Linked DNA regions of Homo sapiens: all the other regions are linked to region 3. The links are contacts of gene promoters, found by promoter capture Hi-C in blood cells and fetal thymus (Javierre and others, 2016). All regions are on one chromosome and are shown on one strand. The core of a region is centred on a gene start or on the middle of the fragment in contact, and the rest is flanking DNA. Distances in the headings are between cores, read along the strand shown. Region 1 overlaps PIWIL2 (piwi like RNA-mediated gene silencing 2). Region 2 has its middle 11 kb from the start of PPP3CC. Region 3 holds the start of RHOBTB2 (Rho related BTB domain containing 2).

What was found. Contacts are between HindIII fragments. The CHiCAGO score rates a contact against its expected background, and 5 or more counts as called.
Region 1: a contact is called between a fragment that was not itself captured here and the fragment with the promoter of RHOBTB2 in region 3, in 1 of 17 cell types (total CD4 T cells). The highest score is 5.0, in total CD4 T cells.
Region 2: a fragment that was not itself captured here is called in contact with the fragment with the promoter of RHOBTB2 in region 3 in 1 of 17 cell types (non-activated CD4 T cells); the score reaches 5.8 in non-activated CD4 T cells.

Annotation. Positions count from the first base shown.
Region 1 is chr8:22,280,660-22,283,389 of GRCh38, reverse strand. It overlaps PIWIL2 (piwi like RNA-mediated gene silencing 2), which reads right to left. Exons shown (of 23, transcript NM_018068.5): 3 at 2,183-2,270; 4 at 1,875-2,013; 5 at 150-356. Among named protein-coding and RNA genes, the nearest start is that of PIWIL2, 6.7 kb to the right of the region's middle. The HindIII fragment of the contact is 5,060 bases long and covers 1-2,730 here.
Region 2 is chr8:22,428,525-22,431,224 of GRCh38, reverse strand. It overlaps a transcript of SLC39A14 not described here. Among named protein-coding and RNA genes, the nearest start is that of PPP3CC, 11 kb to the left of the region's middle. The HindIII fragment of the contact is 236 bases long and covers 1,232-1,467 here.
Region 3 is chr8:22,998,298-23,000,997 of GRCh38, reverse strand. It overlaps RHOBTB2 (Rho related BTB domain containing 2), which reads right to left and starts at 1,450. Exons shown (of 10, transcript NM_015178.3): 1 at 893-1,450. RHOBTB2-AS1 (RHOBTB2 antisense RNA 1) reads left to right here and starts at 1,193. Exons shown (of 2, transcript XR_007060857.1): 1 at 1,193-1,319. RefSeq lists silencers at 741-790, 1,121-1,290, 1,511-1,770. The HindIII fragment of the contact is 10,673 bases long and covers 1-2,700 here.

The DNA.
Region 1 (2,730 bases), core at 135-2,634, 720 kb after region 3:
AATCTCCCACTGGCAAAAAACAAAACACCCCGCAGTATTATTACCCAGGGAGGACCCAACACAAACAGATTTTACAATACTACACACGAGCCAAAATGCAGAGTTTTCACGATCATTACTAAGTAGAGAAGGCAGTGCTCCTGACTTACTTTTCCTTGTGTTCCACAGTCAGGACCAGAGGGCGATCTGGAGAGTGCAGGGGAGACTGGGGCAGAGCTGGTGGTGATGACAGCTGCGGGGGACCCCGGGACGGTGTGCTGAAGGTACAGGGAGGCTTGTCCACTTCTCTGCTGATACCACCTGCTGCTCTTCCCAGTGGTAATAAAGACGCATCTGAACTCCCTCTTCCAAGCGTCCTGAAATGTGGAGAGAGAGGCAAATCAGGGTTTTTTATAATAGCTATGTCCCATCCAGATTATTCCCCCAACTCCACAATCTCTTCCTGGAGGAGACAGCAAAAGGGATCCAAGTTTCAAATTCTCTCAAACTACATATGCCAAGGCCAGGCACAGTGGCTCACGCCTGTAACCCTAGCACTTTGGGAAGCTAAGGTGGGGAGACTGCTTGAGCCCAGGAGTTCAAGACCAGCCTAAACAATACAGTGAGACCCCGCACTATAAAAAATACAAAAATTAGCCAGGTATGGTGGCTCATAACTGTAGTCCCAGCTACTCGGGTGGCTGAGGTGGGAGGATCACTTCAGCCTGGGAGGTCGAGGCTGCAGTGAGCTGAGATCACACCACTGCACTAAAGCCTGGGTGACAGAGATAGAACGAATTTCAAAAAAAAAACACAACATATGCCACCATGACTCATTCACCAACTGCTATTGACTGTCAGAGCCATCTTCCATAGCAGAATAGAGGAGAAAGTTTGACTCAACGTTATTAAAGAATCACCACGGCTGCGTGCAGGGGCTCACGCCTATAATCCCAGCTCTCTGGGAAGCCAAGGCGGGAGGATTACCTGATGTCAGGAGTTTGAGACCAACCTGGCTAATAAGATGAAACCCCGTCTCTACTAAAAATACAAAAATTAGCTGGGTGTGAGGCGGAGGTTGCAGTGAGCCAAGATCGTGCCACTGCACTCCAGCCTGGTGACAGAGTGAGACTGTCTCCAAAAAAAAAAAAAAAAAAAAAAAAAAAGCCGGGTGTGGTGGCGCACACCTGTAGTCCCAGCTACTCGGCACACTGAGGCAGGAGAATCGCTTGAACCTGGGAGGTGGAGGTTGCAGTGAGCCAAGATTGCCCCACTGCATTCCAGCCCGGTCAACACAGTGAGACCCCATCCCTTAAAAAAAAAAAAAAAAAAAAAAGTCCACGCACAGTGGGGCTCATGCCTGTAATCTCAGCACTTTGGGAGGCCGAGGTGGGTGGACTGCCTGAGGTCAGGAGCTCAAGACCAGCCTGGCGAACACAGTGAAACCTCGTCTCTACTAAAAATACAAAAAATTAGTTGGGTATGGTGCCACATGCCTGTAGTCCCAGACACCTGGGAGGCTGAGGCAGGAGAATTGCTTGAACCTGGGAGGCGGAGGTTGCAGTGAGCCAAGATTGAGGCATTGCACTCCAGCTTGGGAGACAGAGCAAAACTTCATCTCAAAAAAAAAAAAAAAAAAAAAATCACCATGATCAGGGTAATTTTTTAAGAGGACAAATGAATTTTTGAACAGCCCAGTGGAGAACTACTTCTTACCCTTTTCCAATGCCTAGCTGTGTTAACAGCTGCTGACTACTCTTGAGAAATATGCATTCTTTAATATAAAACCAGACATTGATTATGAGATGACACAACTCTTCTTAGAGTTGCTCTCTGAACTTACAGAGATATTCCATCTGAATTTGATAGTTACCTGAGAGGGTAACTTTACCCACCTACTCCAACCAACGGAGGTCTCTGCCATCTTGCTGTCCCCAGCCGCCAACACTTTTGGATCCCAAAAAGTGGGAGAGAGTTCCTCCCTGTCCTTGCGTACCAGATTAGCAGACAAGCCTCGACCTAAAATGCCTCTACCTGAAAGAAAGAACCGAACCCCAGCAATGACTATGACTTAAACGTGTTTTAAAGTATAGTTTTTTTTTTTAAAAAAAGCACAGTTACGTTTCTGAAAATAAACCATTTGGATTTTAGAAGAAACCAATCATACATACCACCAAATTTCTCAAGTTAGTTTTCCACATACCTGATGGAAGCATTTCCCGTTTCAGAGGGGTCTTAGAAACTGTTTCAATGCCCAGGCCTCGGAACATGGAGACCAAACCCACAGACTCCTGTGGAAAGTCAAAGAATAAAGTTCTAAGAGGTAGTTTAAAACCCCAGAAACAAGGGCTTTCTTAGTCTTGGTATATAATAAAATCATCTTCAAATTCTATACATGTTATAAGAATAAAGGGAAACATTTTATAAACTTTAAAAAATACCTGTAACTATGTAATATTAGGTCTTAAAGCACAGTTACAGTTATGGCCCATGATTTGATGTGTACAGTATAACAAAATGCAACAGAACAGAATTAACTTTTCCATTTTGATTTGATAAACAGTATAACAAAATGCAACAGAACAGAGTTAATTTTTCCATTTTGATTTGATAAACAGTATAACAAAATGCAACAGAACTTTTCCATTTTTCTATTTTCTGCATATTCAAGGCAAGAGAGAACAAGTGTACTGGTTAATACATTTCAAAAAAGCTGGATCATTTATGAGTATCAGAGGTTTGTGTAACCTG
Region 2 (2,700 bases), core at 100-2,599, 570 kb after region 3:
ATGAGGTCAGGCGATCGAGACTATCCTGGCTAACACAGTGAAACCCTGTCTCTACTAAAAATACAAAAAATTAGCCAGGTGTGGTGGCACGTGCCTGTAGTCCCAGCTACTCAGGAGGCTGAGGCAGGAGAATTGTTTGAACCCAGGAGGCAGAGGTTGCAATGAGCTGAGATCACGCCACTGCACTCCAGCCTGGGCAACAGAGGGAGACTCCATCAAAAAAAAAAAAAAAAGAGGGAATTGGGAGTCCCAGACCGGCTGCGGCAGCTCGCCCCTATAATCCCAGCACTTTGGGAGGCCGAGATGGGCGGATTACTTGAGGCCAGGAGTTAAAGACCAGCCTGGCCAACATGGTAAAACCTTGTTTCTACTAAAAACACAACGATTAGCTGGGCATGATGGCACAGGCTTGTAATCCCAACTACACAGGAGGCTGAAACAAGAGAATGGCTTGAACCCAGGAGGTGGAGTTTGCAGCGAGCCGAGATCACACCACTGCACTCCAGCCTGGACGACAGAGCAAGACCCTGTCTCCAAAACGAAAAAAAAAGAATTGGGAGCCCCAAAGCTGCCGTCACTTCCTGCTTGTGACTGTTGTTGTTTGCATCATTGCAGAACAGGAGAAAATGGTGGCAACCAGTACATAACACATTTGGTGGTTCCACAGGTAAGATACCAAGGTAAACAGCACTGGCATTCAAGTTGCTTGGACCAAAAATTTAGAATCAGGGACGCCTTTCCACACACTGTATCCTGTCAACTTCCTCCCCCTACCGTCTATTTTCCTATACAGCAGATCTTTCTAAACTTAAAGCATAAAACTGATTTGTCATTCCTCTGGTTAAAACTCTCTTGTGGTCTAAGGGCGATGGCCCACGCCTGTAATCCCAGCACTCTGGGAGGCTGAGGCAGCAGGATTACTTGAGCCCAGGACTTGGAGACCAGACTGGGCAACTTAGTGAGACCCCGTCTCTAAAAAAAAATTAAATTAGCCAGGCTGGTTGAGGTAGGTGGGAGGATCTCTTGAGTCCAGGAGTTTGAAGCTGCAGTGACCTCTGACCCCATCTCTAAAACAAACAAACAAAAACAAATGTCTTCTCCTTTCCCGAAGTGGTCTGACTCCTGTCAACTTTGAGCTCCCACCAACCTTCTTCCCTCATGTCTGCTGCAGTCCAGACAGACTGGCCTTGTTTCTGCTGTTTACACATACTGGCCTCAAATAGATGAAGCTTATTTCTGTCTCAGCATTCTTGCGTTGGCCGGCCCTTTGGCTTAGAACATTCTTCTACAGTCACAAAGCTCAACTCAGATGTCATCTGGTTAGAGCCCTTTCCTGATCACCTCTATCCCTGTCTGCCCATTCCCTACCTCACTCCCCCGTGTTAATTTATCTGTAGCACTTGGTTTTTGTTTATTTCCCCTCACTCCTTAAGGGAAGGATCTTTCACTGCTATGTCATGCCAAGCTTGGCAGAGTTGGAGCTCAACAATTTGTTGAATGAATGGATTTCATCTTACTCTTGTCTGCAGCAGAAGTTTTTCACCTGGGGCACAGGGGCTTCAGGAGATCATTCCCTTCTCGTCTACCTCCCATCCCCATGCTGCTCCCAATTATAAATGAAATTAAAGGTTGGAGTATATTTACACATGCTATGAGTGTGTATGAGCAATCATGTATTTTTCAGATTCTCAAAGGAATCCAAAGAACAAAATGTTAATTACTACTAGTACAGAGCTTTAATTTCTAAAACATTTTGCATATTTACTTCTCATTATACTTATACCTACCTTATAAGGTAGGCAGTATAAAATTATAATTTCTACTTCATAAAAATATTGAGGTGCAGAGAGGTTAAACATGTTAGAGATCACACAGATAGTCAATGATGGAATTGACATGAATCCATTCCTATGGATGCAAAATCCTGTGTTCTTTTTTTGTTTGTTTGTTTTTGAGACGGAGTCTGGCTCTGTCGCCCAGGCTGGAGTGCAGTGGTGAGATCTTGGCTCACTGCAAGCTCTGCCTCCCGGGTTCATGCCATTCTCCTGCCTCAGCCTCCCGAGTAGCTGGGACCACAGGTGCCCGCCACCACGCCCAGCCAATTTTTTGTATTTTTAGTAGAGACGGGGTTTCACCGTGTTAGCCAGGATGGTCTCGATCTCCTGACCTTGCGATCCACCCGCCTCGGCCTCCCAAAGTGCTAGGATTACAGGCGTGAGCCACCACGCCTGGCCATTCTGTGTTCTTTTTCAAGACAAAGACACAATGCAGAACTCTGGGGAAGTAAGTTTGCATTGGTTCTTACCTTCGTTTGCTCAAAAATTACCAAACATCAACACTTTTCCAAGGATTCTCCCATTTAAACTAGTTTACAAGGCTGCTTTAAGTTTTTCAGTGAAAAAACAAAATCATCAGTTAGATCAAGGCAGTCTTCCATGCAGTCAGCCTCCATTTCAAACAAAATGTTAAAAGAACACATGAACTGGCCTGGCGCAGTGGCTCATGCCTGTAATCCCAGCACTTTGGGAGGCCAGGCTGGGCGGATCACAAGGTCAAGAGATCGAGACCAGCCTGGCCAACATGGTGAAACCCTGTCTCTACCAAAAATACAAAAATTAGGTGGGTGTGGTGGCATGCGCCTGTAATCCCAGCTACTCAGGAGGGTGAGGCAGGAGAATCGCTTGAACCCGGGAGGCAGAG
Region 3 (2,700 bases), core at 201-2,700:
TACACACACTCTTTGCAGAGCTCAGAAAGGGCCCCTTTCCCTCCCACAGCTGATAGGAGGCTTGTTCATCTGTGGCTGCCCTAGTCTGGTTGTCAAGGAAACAACAGAATCTCCCTGGGAGCCTGGCTTGTCTCCTAGCAACCAGTATCCCACATCATCTTACAAAATGGGAATGGGAGGAAAATCCTGAAAATGAAGGTAAAATCAAGGGAGATGGATTGAATGGAGAATTGGAAGGAGAAGAACAAAGAGAGAGTGGACTCCTAATTCGGGGAGGCTCCCACGGGGGTCGCTGGCATTGCAAGAAGCCCCGTGCAGATCCAACAGAAAGCAAGGCCCAAAGGGACCCTGAATGGTCAGATTAAAGAAATGCAAGCCTAAACACAGATAAGCCCCCTCAAACCTAAAATGTGGACACATCACCAAACACCGCCAAAGATCTCCCCAGTAGTTTCACAGAACTCAGTTACATAGACTGCAATGGAGTTGAGTTCAAAGAACCAGCTCCGGAACCGCCAGCAAAACACCCCAATTCCACTGTTGTTTTGTGTTTGTTTTCTTAACAGAATCACTCCCACCACTCTGGACCGTTTTTCCTTTTTTCTGACACGCTACTCTGCACACACACAAAATAGAAATTTAAAAATTTTTAAACATCGAGAAGGGGGAGGGGCACGACAGGCCGAAGCAATCAAGTCATCTTCCTTTCCCTAGAAACACCGGAAAGGATTAGGCTCCAGCCCCGCTGTACCCAGCAGCCGAAGCCAGAGCCCAGGGACTAGCGGGGCCCGGGGAACGTAGCGAGGGGCGCGGCAGGGCAGGGAGGGCGGAGCGGCGCGTCTGCAAGGGCTGCTGGCCACCCCGCCATAACCGCAAGCAGCCATCTACTTACACCACTACATGTGACGGGGTGGCTTCTAGCGTGAGGAACACATCTCTTCCTGCTGAGCACGCTCATTTTAGTGAAATGTCAGGGGTCCCTCCGCGCCTGCAAGTTGGGACGACGCCGGCGCCGCCGCGCTGCTGCTGGGCTCCAGCCTCCCGGCCAGCTCGCGGCCACTCAGAAACTCCGGCAGGGCAGCCCAGGCCGGACGTGGGCCCAGGAGCGGACGCGCGCGCTGCACTGCAGCCGCTGCCCCTTCCGGATCAGCATCGCCCCGCGCGCCAGGCGCCCAATGTCACGGCGGCGCGCGGAGCCGGGCTGCGGAGGCAGCGGGCGGCGCGCAGGGGCGCCGGGAGAGGGGCGAGGCCGCCGCCGCTACGCGCCCGGGCCCGCGGCGAAGGCGCTGCCGCGAAGACGCCTGGCGCTGCAGTCCCAGGTACCGCTCGCGACCTCCTTTTTTCATTCACAAAAAAAGGATAGGGAAAAAAAAAAGAAAAGAAAAAAACGGGAGGGTAAAAAAAGGAGGAGAAAAAAATCGCACCCAAGACGACAGCCGTGACGGGCCCCGCCCACTGCCGCGCGCAGTTGGTGGAAAGCGTTCGGGGGGCGGGGAGGGGGCGGGCGGGGGAAGAAGGGGATTGGACGCCCCGCAGATCCCGCCTCGCAGCACCGCTCCCGCCCACCGCCCGCGCTCTTCCGCCCCTCCCGCAGCGACGCCGCGGGGAGGGTCTCGGCTCGCGGGTCTGGGTGGCGCCGGTCCCTCCACCTGGCGAGGCGCAAAGGCTCTCCGGACGCCCACGGGGTTTTCCCCTTTCCTTCGGGAGGCGGGGGAGAACCTCTGAGAGGCATCCTAGTGCACCCTGGAAGGGATGCTAGTTGGAGGAGAACGTGTGGTTGTAAGCCCAGGCCCCCACCACTTGCCCACGGGGAGGCGACGGCAGGGGCAGTCGGGGGGGCGGGGGGCGGGGGCCGGGTAGGGACGAATAACCGGCGTTTCCATACAAGCCCTCTGCTGCTTTGGGAATTTTCGTGGCACTTGAGAGCCTTCCTCCCTCCATGGCCCTTAATGAGTTGTGGGGTGGGTACCTGTACCACGTTACCTGTCTCCCACCTAGGCCTTCTTCAGCGGGTCCCCACCTCCATCCCATCCCCCTCCTGTTGCCTCCTGGAGTTCAGTAATAGCTGCTAATCTCTGAAAGAAACACCATGAAGTGAGTAGCCTCGAAAATCGTCCCTAAGCCTTCTTTGGGTTTTCTGCCTCAATTTACCCCTCTGTAAAATAGAGAGATTCTAAGGTATAACATCTATAACCTGAGGGGTCCCTAGAAGACACTTTCCATATTCAAGGCTGGTTTTATCAGGATAATCTTTTTTTTTTTTTTTTTTTTTTGAGTCTCCCTCTGTTGCCCAGGCTGGAGTGCAGTGGTGCAATCTTGGTTCACTGCAACCTCCGCCTCTTGGGTTCAAGCAGTTCTGCCTCAGCCTCCCGAGTAGCTGGGACTACAAGTGCACGCCACTATTCCCAGCTAATTTATGTATTTTTGGTAGAGACGGGGTTTCACCACCTTGGCCAGGCTGGTCTCGAACTCCTGACCTCGGGTGATCTGCCTGCCTTGGCCTCCCAAAGTACTAGGATTACAGGCGTGAGCCACCATGCCCAGCCAGGATGATCTTGACTGCTAGTGTTAAGTAGTCAGCTCAGTCTGGTTTGATTCATCTCCTCAGTTACCTCTGGACAATTTTTAAAGCCCAGACCAGCCTGCCACCCACCTGAACCGCCTCCACCACTCCTCCATCTTGTGCTCTGAAAATGCAAA